Linked DNA regions of Homo sapiens: region 2 is linked to region 1. Evidence: promoter capture Hi-C in 16 types of primary human blood cells and fetal thymus (Javierre and others, 2016). All regions are on one chromosome and are shown on one strand. Each heading gives the region's core, a stretch centred on a gene start or on the middle of the fragment in contact. The rest is flanking DNA. Distances are from core to core; before and after follow the strand shown. Region 1 holds the start of SLK (STE20 like kinase). Region 2 overlaps COL17A1 (collagen type XVII alpha 1 chain).

Region 1 (6,249 bases), core at 2,256-4,755:
TCTATGGAATCTTGAAAAACAAAAACTTTTAGAAAAAAGAGGCCATAAGAAGACAGATAAGTTTTAATTTCAAATTTTATTTTTTAAAAAACTCATACCCTACTCCTTAGAAGCAGAGAGTAGTGAAATGAAAAAAGAAAAAATAGTGCCAGCCCGTGCTCTTCAAATATCATACTAAAATACAGTCATCAAGATCACAGAAATTCTCCTTGACACAATTTTATAGTGCTCAAATAACTACATGAAATAAGACTCTTGTTCTTCAGAAATTTTTCAATTAATGTCTCAGTACAGGAAGATAGATCACATTTTGCAGAAAGTGTCATGAAAGAATAACACAGGGCTTTAGTATCTCCACACAGTCTGCCCATGCCATTAGAAACCAACAAAATGGTTTATTATCTTCTTGGTTCCTTTCCCTATCTCATCCCAAAGTTTGCATCTATGAGCTCTAAATGTAATAACAGTAATTTCTACCATTTACTGAGCCCTTTCCATGTGCCTTATATTATCTTTTTCAATCCTCACACTGAGGATGTCTTATGGATGAGCAAAGTTAGGCACAGGACAAATAAGAAACTTGCTCAAGGTCATATGCTGCTATTGAGTGAGAGAGCTAAGTTATATTCCAACTCCAGAGCCAGTGCTCTTACTACTAAGCTGTTTATATTCGATAAAACTTATTTACACCATGAAAACTGCCCATAATCACCTACCACCTTCTAACTACAAGATTCTAGGTGCCTTGAGCATTTATTTTTGCCTTTCCAGGCTAATTACATACTCACAGAACTTTAATGGGTGAAAGAATCTAAACTCCTAAGAAAGTTAATATTATGGCTAAGAAAACGGAGGTCCAGAGAAGTTAAGTGTTTTGTCCAGGATTACAACGCTGGTTTGTGACAGCCAGCACTAAAACACAACTCTTGATTCCCAGGAGTGATCTTCCCACTACAATGAAGCCTTGCATCTTATGAAGCTCTTGCTGAAGCCCATACTCTACCCTCCACACAAATAACAAAGCTTATTTTGCCAACTTCCACAGCCTATGATAGCTTCCACGACAGCATTCATATGCAGACAAAACACATTCTTTCATTTCAACAAATAAACAGACACATCACTATACGCTAAGGCAGTGAATGAACCCAAATATGTATCATAATTTTGGCCCTTAATTTTATTATAGAAACATAAACATATTAATTGTAATAAGTGACAAGTGCTATAATAGCCATGTGAACAACGTGTTCTGAAAGCACACAGAGAGGAGTAGATATTTTAGCCTGGATAAAGAATGAGGACTGGGGTTTTGACAAGATGCATTTGAGGCAGGGCAGAGGCAGAAGTGTAATGGTGCTTAGAAAGTAGTAGGCAGCCGGGGACGGTGGCTCACGCCTGTAATCCTAGCACTTTGGGAGGCCGAGGCGGGCGGATCACCTGAGGTCGGGAGTTCAAGACCAGCCTGACCAACATGGAGAAACCCTGTCTCTACTAAAAATACAAAATTAGCCGGGCATGGTGGCGTATGCCTGTAAACCCAGCTACTACGGGAGGCTGAGGCAGGAGAATCGCTTGAACCCGGGAGGGGGAGGTTGCAGTGAGCCGAGATCGCGCTATTGCACTCCAGCCTGGGCAAAAGGGGCGAAACTCCGTCTCAAAAAAAAAAGAAAGTAGTAGGCAAAATGCTCTCATTTCTACCAGTGACTGTTAAAATAAAAAACAATACTAAATATGGGCTCAGAAGACCTGAGTTCAAGTCTAGGCTGAGACTCATGTGACTGTGAACAATTTCAATATCTTCATCTGTGAAATGTGGATACTAATACTGACCTGCCTACCTCACAAGATTTTTGTGGGGGCCAAATTATTTGAAAGTACTTAAAAACTTCAAAGTCCTGTATAAACATAAGTTATTTTCTTACGTTTTCACTTCTAGGCAACCCTGTGGGTCCTTCCCCTAAACGCTGTCTCATAAAAAATTCGCCCTTCAGGATGAAAATACTCCAATGACATCATTCATATGTTCCTTAGGAGATATTAAATAGTTAACATTAATGCCTTCAGGTTGAAACGCCAAGCCTCTTTCTATTGAAATAAATACATGCGTGTGTGTTTTTAACTGCTTAAGCGCTGATACTGACTTCTAGTCAATGCTTACCATAAATATATTTAAAACTAGTACCACATGAAGGTTTTTTGGAAATTTTGTCAGAAATTCCATTCTATTTTATAGTATGCTGTCAAGCAACTAACTCAAGAAGAGACTGCAAGTAGCAATCACTTTGATCCCAACTAGTTCTGTATTAGCTCTAGATACAACCAAATATATATACTGGACCCTAAAAACAGAACTGTTGGAGTACAAGCATGCACGCGAATGCAGTCAGTAGACAAATCCACTGCAAAGTGCAATGAGTTTCTCATTCTAAAATACTTGAAGGGCACAACCAGACCCCTCCTATAAATTAAAGAACACTCTCATTTCCTTTGAAGTTTGAAAGAGTAGACTTTATAACCCTGTCTCCTTTTCCAATCGCTCTTTAAACTCCATCCAGGCCCCATTTTGTTCCACCGTAAACCCGACTTCTTAGCTACTCCTTGGATGATCAGCCAAGTAAAGTTGCATCGAACCGTAACAGTCAAAAGAAGGACAGGATAAGGACCAGGGGAGCAGAAGTCCTCCCGCCACTCCAGGCCAGTGGCTGTTTTACCTTCGCAGTACAACTTCCCGTTTTCCCCCTCTTACCTTGTACACTTTCCCAAAGGCTCCGTCGCCCAGTTCTCCTATAATCTCCCAAAAGTCTTCGGGGTTCAGGTCCCTCTTCACGTGTTCGTACTGCTTCTTCTTCTTCTCGCTCCCCAACTTGAAGATCTTACGGAAATTGAAGAAGGACATTTTTCCTCCCAACACAGAGTTCCTTGCACTTAAGGACTAAAAACAATAAAAGGCAAAGTTTCTCTTCCCTGCTCTCCCGCGCGAGCCCGGCTGGCGGCGGCGGGCGCGGCGTCCCTCGGCCCCCGCAGCTCCGGCCGGGCGGTCCCGGGAGAAGGCGGGGCGGCGACCCGGGCTCCGGCCCGCGGTGGGGGTGCTGCGCGAGCGGCCCCTCCGCCGAGCCCGGCCCGCGAGCCGCGCGGTGGGCGCCTCGCCTCCGGCCCACCCTCCGGGAGCGGCACCTGCCCGCAAGCTCGCTCCCACCCGGCCTGATCCGACGGGTCCGAGCGGTCAGGACTCCCGCGGCGGCGGCTTAGGCCCGTGTCACGGCGAGTCTCCAGGGGCGGCGGCCACTCTGGGAGAGAGAAGCGGCCGGCGGCCTCGGAGGCGGGCAGTCGAGAAGCCGAGCCCTCCCGCCTCGGGCCGCGAGCCTAGGGTCTCCTCCGCCGCCGTCCGCTCCCGCGGCGCAAGGCCCGCGCGTCCCCTCGGGTCTGGGGCGCCGCCGCCGCCGCCTGTCTCCCTCCCCAGCCCACACAGCCTCGGCCTGGAGCGCGCGCCGACGCCGACTCCGTAGCGCGCCCGCGCGCTTTCCCGGCTGCGCGCCCGCCCGGTCACGCGCCCTGCTCACCGCGCGCTCGCGTGGGGGCGTCCCCTCTGGCCCCGCGCACGCGCGCTACGTCCCTCAGACTGGCTGCCCCCGAGGGTTCGCGTGAGCGGAGCACGGGGCTCGGGGTGCGGGGGGCTGGTGTGATGGACGCATTTGTTCTTCGGTCCCTGACGATTGTTTCTCATTTGCCCTCCAAGCCCCAAATCCTGTCAGTCCACGGCCTTGATGGAGCGGCCCCCGTGGGACGACCCTGTTGATTGTGCTAGCGGATGTTGTCTCCATTCTGGATCTGGGAAAAACTGTGGAGTGAAAGCCGGACCTGTTAGGGTTGGGACCTGAAAGCGGACTTTTTCGCTCTCAGACGGGCCCCAGGTACAGTGAGAGGGGAGTTTGTGTGGTGGTTGTGAGCTTGAGCTTTGGAGAGAGAGATCTGTGACCTTGGGCAGGTGACCTCTCCGAGCCTCGGTTTCCTCGCCGTAAAATGAAGATCCTAATAGTCCCTACCAGAAGGTTGTGAATGAGACAATAGATGGAAGCCCTTTGCGCGGCCCCTGCACCCGTAAACGCTCAATCTTAGTTCTTACTCTTGTTGTTTTAAGTGTGCAGGCAAGATAGACACAGATACATAAAAACTGTTTAAGACCACTTCTCTTTTTTTTCTTTCTTTCTTTTTTTTTTTTTTTTTTTTTTTTTGAGACGGAGTCTCGATCTGTCGCCCAGGCTGGAGTGCAGTGGCGCGAACTAGGCTCACCGCAAGCTCCGCCTCCCGGCTTCACGCTATTCTCCTGCCTCAGCCTCCCGAGTAGCTGGGACTACAGGCGCCCGCCACCACGCCCCGCTAATTTTTTTGTATTTTTAGTAGAGACGGGGTTTCACCGTGTTAGCCAGGATGGTCTCGATCTCCTGACCTCGTGATCCGCCCGCCTCGGCCTCCCAAAGTACTGGCGTGAGCCACCGCGCCGGGCCCCCACTTCTCAACTGATGACTGCGACACTCCCTTGAGGGTAAAACTAACTTCTGGCCACCTCCACAACTGTAAACCTGGTGTCACTCTTGGTGACTCCACCTCAGCTAAGGCCCCCACTTCCTGATCTGCCTCCAGCCCCCTTGGGCAGCACTCCCTGGTGGGGCAGTGTGGACGTTGGCTGGAATCCGTCAGGTGGTGACCTACCTTCCCCTCCTCCACCAGACGGGAGCTCTTTCAGGCCAGTGGTTTGTTGTTCATCAAGATATCCAAGTACCCGGCAACATTCCTGGCATATAATAGGAAGGCAGATCTGGTGAATGAATGAATGAATGGCGGTATCTGGAGCAGAGACAATGTATGTATATATTGCTATTTATATAATGTCTGCCCCCCCAGTCATTTTGCCCTTCAGCCCCAAAATGGCATAGCAAAACCCCCCTTCCAGTAAGACGCTTAAGATGATTCAATTCCTTGAGATCCTTCTATTTTTTTAAGTGTTATTGCAATATATTGATATACAATAAACTGTACATATTTAAAGTGTGCATTTGGTTTTTTTGCTAGTACTTGTTTGCTTTTTTTTAAAATTATACTTTAAGTTCTGGGATACACATGCAGAACGTGCAGGTTTGTTACATAGGTATACACGTGCCATGGTGGTTTGCTGCAAGTGTGCACTTTTATATGTTTTGACAAATGTATAGACCTGTGAAAACAATACTATAATTATTTGTAATTATTATCATTTATGGAGAAAATGAAATGCTTAAAAAATAAAATTAAATTAAAAGTACTATAATTCTACTATCCAGACACAACCATTGATAAGAACTTATATTTCAAAACAGGATTTTTTTGGTTGTGCATTAACTTTTTTCAACATGGTTGAGGTTGTATTACATAAAAAGGTTTGCATCCTGCACTTCGCATATTTCAATACAATTAATAATTGTTCTCTTCCATTATGAGATATTTAGATTATAATTCCTCTGTTTTTAATAAAATACGGATAAATATCTTTGTACACAAATCTTTTTCCACATATTTGATTATTTCCTTAGGATAAATTGCCAAAAGTAGATTTCGGTCAATGGGTATATGTCTGTTTCCTTATTTTGTTCTTTTCAAAATAGAAAAGACTTTACTATTTTGTCAATTAAAAGATAGTGTATTACTGGCTGGGTGGGGTGGCTCACACCTATAATCCCAGGCTGAGGTGGGAGGATTTCTTGAGCCCAGGAATTTGAGACCAGACTGGGCAACATGGCGAGATCACATCTACCAAAAATTAAAAACAGAAAAATTAGCTGGGCATGGTGGCACTCACCTGTGGTCTCAGCTACTGGGGAGGCTGAGGCAGGAGGATCACTTGGGCCCAAGAGGATGAGGCTGCAGTGAGCCATGTTTGTGCCACTGCACGTCAGCCTGGGCAACAGAGCTAGAACTTGTCTCGAAGAAAAAATAAAAATGAAAGATAGTATATTTTTGTTGTAAATAATTCAAATAATACAGAAATTATAAACTAGGAAGCTGTCTATAGTTCTGTCCTCCTTCCTTCCCCCCTACTCATAGTTACCCTCGACCTAACCACTGTTAAAAGTTAAGCCTGTGATGATGGATATGTTTATGTAATAGGCAGTGGTGATGTACAGTTATCACCCAGCTCATCTAGTTATATACATTAAGTATGAGCAGCTTATTGTATGTCAATCATAATTCAATAAGTGGTTTTTAAAAAGT
Region 2 (6,249 bases), core at 3,363-5,862, 110 kb before region 1:
AAAAAATATTCACGTGAAAGAATTATGGTTTAAATTCTTGAAATCATGTTTTTGGTTATCAGCTTCAACAGTGGGGACCTATAATTACTAAAAACAATGATAAGTATGACTATCATGGTTTCTGATTTTTCCTGCAGGTGGCTATGGTATGGATGTAACCAAGAAAAACAAACGAGATGGAACTGAAGTCACTGAGAGAAGTAAGAGCATCAGAATTTTTTAATTTATGTGTTTTATTATGAAAGTAATAAAAATTTGGAAACAGAATAAGTAATTCATTAATAATTCTACCACAACCACTGTATCATGTTTAAGTGTGTTCCTAAATGGACTTTAATCCTTCTCATAAGACAGCTCTTGTTGATTTTTATGTCAAAAGATATCCTGCTTTTTCTTGAATGATGAAGGTTGTCATTTCCATGTACAGTATTTATAACCCTCATTTTTAATGATGGGATAGGATTCTGCTAAATGAATTCACCATAGTTTATTTTATCATTTCCAAATTTAGGGGTACAGGGCAACAGAAATCTAAACGAATAACATCCTAGTTATTGTATCATAGTTGACCTCTACGCTGAAAATTGAAAACAAATAAATTTATTTTGTGGAACTGCCCAAATAATAAATTCAGAAACATTTAAACTCTCCTCCTACCAACTCTAAGTCAGGAAACTCTTTCACTTATTCTGTGACTTTCATATATCTCCAATAAAAAAAAAATTCTGGCTCCATAGACTTGAAAGTTTTAGTTAGGAAATAATTCACTTTTATGTGTCAAAGAATCCCAAAGGTCTATACAATGAGAGGTTCTATACAATGAAAGCTGAAGGACTATTATTCAAATCAAGCTGCCACTGCACTCTACAAAAACATTTCCTTTTTTTTTTTTTTTGAGACGGAGTCTTGCTCTGTTGCCCAGGCTGGAGTGCAGTGGCGTAATCTTGGCTCACTGCAACCTCCACCTCCCAGGTTCAAGCCATTCTCCTGTCTCAGCCTCCCGAGCAGCTGGGATTACAGGTGCCCACCACCACACCCAGCTAATTTTTTGTGTTTTTAGTAGAGACGGGGTTTCACTATGTTGGCCAGGCTGGTCTCAAACTCCTGACCTCGTGATCTGCCCGCCTCGGCCTCCCAAAGTGTTGGGATTACAGGCGTGAGCCACTGCGCCCAGCCAACATTTCCTTTTATGCATTAAGTACTGTTTCTGGCATGTCCATAACCGCATCTTCTTGCTAGGACAACCAAACTAATTAGCAAAATGCAGTATGAAGAAGGACAGTGTGAATGAGAGTCATGTGGGATGGAGCAGGTGTCAGCGGCACAGCTGAAAGTAGCACAAAATGATCCTGCACCATCTTCCTTTACTCTTTTCTCCTTTCACCACCTTCCCCACACGTATGTGCCCATGCATGCCACACACACACACACATACATGCACACATACACACATGCATGCATGCATACAAGCACACTGGAAACCTGATATCAAAGAACAAAAGCCCCAGATAGGTAGGGTCTTCTGTATACCCACCAGAGACGGAGGTAGTGCTGAGGGCCACAGTCAGAGCATGAGTGATGGATTCACCATCTCTCAGACCTACAGGAACTAAATTTCAGAGGCCAAGGGACTGGTTCTTCAAGTCTGTCTGTGATGTGCCTGGATCACTGATTTTGCCAAACCCCAAATGTGACTTACCAGGAGCACCCTTCCTTCCCACAACTCCCCACATTCAGGGGTTGCCCTGAAGACATTAGAACGAAACATAATGTTCTTAAACACCTCCAAATTCATGAAGAAGTACACAGTGAAGTCAGCTAGGGTGTTGGTCTCAGCTGAACTGAGAGACCATGGGGAAGGAGAAATGCAGAGAAACGGAGTGACTTGAGACAAGAGGGCCTGGTCCTCCTTCAACCTCAGACCAGGCCTGGACTGGATCTAATTGTCCAAGGAGAGACATCAACAGCAAAACAACTCATGTTTCAAACGCAGTGCATAACTTCTTTTGGCTCCAAAGAGATATAAACTTATTTTCCAAGCATATGAAACCCATTGTTGTTGCTCATATCTTTTTGCACAGTGGGTCAGATCACACACCTTAAAGCACAAGGATAGAAAAATCAATGTCGAACCTAATTTAATATGCTTAGCCTGTGACAGAGCTTAGACCTTGCCAAGATCCAGAGGTGTCAGTGCATTACATAAGAACTCATCTTTTCTTTGTCTTTTTCTAGTTGTCACTGAAACAGTAACCACAAGACTTACATCCTTACCACCAAGTAAGTAACTACCTCAATAGCTTTCTTTTCAGTAGGTCACATTTGAAGGGCCCCACACCTGTAACCTTTTCCATGGGAGCTCCAAAATTTTTGACATCTTTTTTAACAGCTATATTGACATTAATTTCTATACAACAGAATTCGCCAGTTTGAAGTGTATAATTCAGTGATTGCTAGTATATTTACCAAGTTATGCAGCCATGGTTACAGTCCAATTTTAGAAGATTTCCATGGCTCCACAAAAAGAAGTGACCATTAGCAGTCATTCCTCATTCTCCCTCCTCTCTCCTCAGCCCCTGGAAACCACAAATCTACTGTCTCTGTAGATTTGCCTATTCCAGATGCTAAAATATTGGATATCTGATCTAACCTGAACAAGGATTGGGGGCTACCAGTCAAGCTTCTGGTTGAGGCTACTTTTTTTTCCAGGAGCTCCTATCACTCCTGTAATATTGATCTGAGCCCAAAAGCTACCCCCTGCCCCCGCCTCCAGGGAGCCTAGTTCCCTGGGGATGGGGAGAGCCCACCCACCAGCAGGTGAAGTCGGAGCAGTGATGGGCTGCCAGGTGGAACACCAGCAACACAGAGCTGCCACACGCCCCTCCAGCACTTCTAGTGGCTGCCATGCCTGGGCACTGACCAGGCACTCAGAAAAAGCAAGCCCAACCAGGTCCTGGACTCAAGGAGCTTTCATCGCTCAGCCTTTTCTACTATTTAAAATTTCCTAATATGCAACTTGCTATATTCCACCCAGGAGACTTTTCTTTTAAATCAGGTGGAATACTCACTCTAGATATTTGTATAAAACAAAACAAAACAAAACAAAACAAAACAAAACAAAAAACCAACGAAACTGGAGCATGGCAGCTTGCATCTTATAATGTAGGTGGGAAAGGAACCCCAAACTAAGAAGGTCCTGGTGAAAAACCAGGGAAGCCTTCCACAGGGTGGGGGACCAGGGGATCCTCTGGCCTGACTCCACCCTGAAATTATCACCTGCTTTTGTTCCTGGCAGAAGGCGGGACCAGCAATGGCTATGCTAAAACAGCCTCTCTTGGTGGAGGGAGCCGGCTGGAGAAACAAAGCCTGACTCATGGCAGCAGCGGCTACATAAACTCAAGTGAGTGCCCACTAGTGCAAGAGGTCAGGGAAGAATGGGTGACAAAGAGAGAGACACCAAGAAAGTCCTACACAGGACACAGGGCAGACACAATTTTGAATCAGTGCACAAAAGGGACAATTACAATCACCTGTCATCCATTCCAAATCCCCCTGAGAGTTATCTAAATAACACACAGCTATTGGGCAGCAGGGCTGGAGACCGGGGGTGCAAATTATAAATCATCAGCATTTGAAGCCTACTTAAAATCAGATCCATTTTCATTAAGTCCACAATATAAATAACTATCATTAATTAAGACTTCATGGGTAGGTAGCTATTTCCTCACTAAATCACTCCCTTTAAGCCATCTCTTTAGAGAACAATGTGCACGCCTGAGGGTTTACAATTTGAATTAACAACGAAAGAAACTTAACGATTGGGTTACTGTGCTAAGGGAAGCTGGTGACATGTGATCCCATGCTGTGCAAGATTCCACTGGGCAAGCATCCAACACAGGCCCATTGTTCCCAGTGAAGCACTCTTTCAAACTAAAACAAAACAAAGCAAAGCAAGGCAAAAACAAAACAAAAACAAGAAGCACCCAGATAGCCCCTGAAGCCATTTAAAATACTTGGAAGTAAGACTAAAAAGGAAGCCCCAAGACATTAGAACAGCCAGGTTGACCAAAAGAAACACCTGCCCTTACCTGTTGAGGCACACTTCCACGCTGGATTATATTCTAGTCCATCCAAGCAGTGTCTACAAGAAAAATCCTGCCAAATCCTTTCCATTTCCATGCATGGTAACCATGCACAGGAAGGACGTTCCCAGGCAATAATTCCACCTTTCCATTTGTGAACAGCTGGGGGAATGCTGAGGTGGCCCCTTTCAGCTGTGCCCTCCCGAAGACCCTCCCTGAGTGTACTTGGTTAATATAGCTGGGTCACAGTAGCCATTTGGTTCACCTCTCTGCTGAAGCACTGAGAACTTATGCTTTTTCCCTCTTGCAGCTGGAAGCACACGAGGCCATGCCTCCACCTCTAGTTACAGGAGGGCTCACTCACCTGCCTCCACTCTGCCCAACTCCCCAGGCTCAACCTTTGAAAGGAAAACTCACGTTACCCGCCATGCGTATGAAGGTATCAGTCCCACTAACCATACAAGAGAACCATTCTCTTCCCCAAGCAACTTCACTCATTCTTTGAAGATTTACATGCTGGCCACCTGTGTCTGCCCTTCACCTTTCTCCCCACTCCTCCTTCATTTCTTTTATGGACTTCCATTACTTGAAGACTTCATTCATTCATTCACTACCTCATTTATTTATTCATTCACCCATTTAGTTACTTTTCCAACTAGTATTTTATCCAGTACCTGCTATGCGTTTAACACTGTGTAGAATGCCTTGACGAATGCTTAAATGAATCAGACATAGATCTTGTCTTCAGGACCTGTAGTCTAATAGACAAGTTAAGATGACAGATAAAATACAATTGTATAAAGTAGATGGAGATTATCACTTTAAGCTGAGGAAATCGGGGAAAATTCTATGGAGGAGGGGACATCTGAGCGAGGTCCTCATGACGAGTAAGAGTTTGATACCCAAAGATGGAGAGATGGGACTGTCCAAGCTGTGGGAGCAGCAGCATAAGCAAAGACAGCCAGGAGAGCCCAGGGCTTAAGTCGGAAATTCAGTGGTACTTACGTGCAAAAGGTTTGAGGGACTCAGATTCAGTGCTAGGATAAGATGTTTAGACTTTATTCCATATGCAATGGGAAGCCACAGAGAGTTTTTAGCAAAACAATCATATTTTAGGTCCAGGACTGGAACTCTGGAAGCCATGTGTTGGAAAAATTGGTGAGAAAGAGACTAAACACAGTGACAAGTTAAAAAGAAATCCTCGGTCATCCAGAGAAGGGACATTTTGGCTGGGACCAGGTTGGTAATGATGGAGGTCAGGAGCTAGAAGTGAAAGTTATCACTGAGGTGGAATTGACAGGTTTGGCAATTGATTAAATGTAAGGAGAAGGCTTCACACACAGGTTGGGTTCTTGGTGGTGCCAACAACTGAAACAGGGAATTAGATGGATGACTCCACTTGATGAATCCAGCTAATTCATCCTGAAGCACAGCCACTTGCCCAGCTCTCTGGCGAGGGTAGCAAGCAGGCAGTGGGTGATGCAGGATTTGAGTTCAGGGAAGAAGTCAGGGCCCAGATACCCAGGTGGAAGCCATTCGCAAAGAGGTGTTAGAGGAAGTCAGAAGACTAAAGGAGTTTGCCAAGAAAGAGAGTATAAAAGTTGAAGGAAGCAAAGGAAGGTAAAGCGGAGGGAATAAGGAGAAAGAAAAGCCAGAGAACAGAGAGAGGAGGAAGAGTCTTTTAGGGACAAGGGGAGACCAGGAACATACAGCAATGCTGAGGTCAACACAAGAGAGTGCTCAGGGTCAAGAAGGAGTCGTAGAAGAAGACACCTGAGTTCCATTACTAAGGTTCCTGGAGTTCCTGGTGATCTGCAGAAGCAGTTTTATGTGGGAAACTGACCAGCCAGGTGGCCAAGGAGTTTAACAGTGAGAAGAGATTGGTGCTGGTGTTGGAGAAGCAGGAGTAAGGCCCAGACACTCTAGTGAATGATCACAGCGGGCTAGCATCCCACACGCACAGCAGACTCCCTCCTGCCGCTGCAGGACAAGAGCTGCTGGGCTGTTGGGAAGCCCCAAATCCAGGTGAGGTGGATTGCATCATCACAGTGCTTTCTGAGGTCGGGCCTGACCAGGGATTTGTACCTTCATTTTAACTGGGTCCACGTTTGGGACAAGCCTCATAAGGTCAGAGAGGTTCCTGGTGCTGAGGGCAGGTTACTTGATC

What was found. Contacts are between HindIII fragments. The CHiCAGO score rates a contact against its expected background, and 5 or more counts as called.
Region 2: a fragment that was not itself captured here is called in contact with the fragment with the promoter of SLK in region 1 in 1 of 17 cell types (activated CD4 T cells); the score reaches 5.0 in activated CD4 T cells.

The regions. Positions count from the first base shown.
Region 1 is chr10:103,964,396-103,970,644 of GRCh38, reverse strand. SLK (STE20 like kinase) reads right to left here and starts at 3,505. Exons shown (of 19, transcript NM_014720.4): 1 at 2,750-3,505. The coding sequence starts at 2,899. It overlaps LOC102724351 (a long non-coding RNA gene), which reads left to right and starts at 3,600. Exons shown (of 5, transcript XR_007062282.1): 1 at 3,600-4,864. RefSeq lists silencers at 2,984-3,083, 3,094-3,143, 3,184-3,643. The HindIII fragment of the contact is 5,644 bases long and covers 1,026-6,249 here.
Region 2 is chr10:104,074,573-104,080,821 of GRCh38, reverse strand. COL17A1 (collagen type XVII alpha 1 chain) reads left to right here. Exons shown (of 56, transcript NM_000494.4): 2 at 138-200; 3 at 2,236-2,280; 4 at 3,296-3,400; 5 at 4,393-4,521. The coding sequence starts at 149. Among named protein-coding and RNA genes, the nearest start is that of COL17A1, 8.2 kb to the left of the region's middle. The HindIII fragment of the contact is 3,859 bases long and covers 2,683-6,249 here.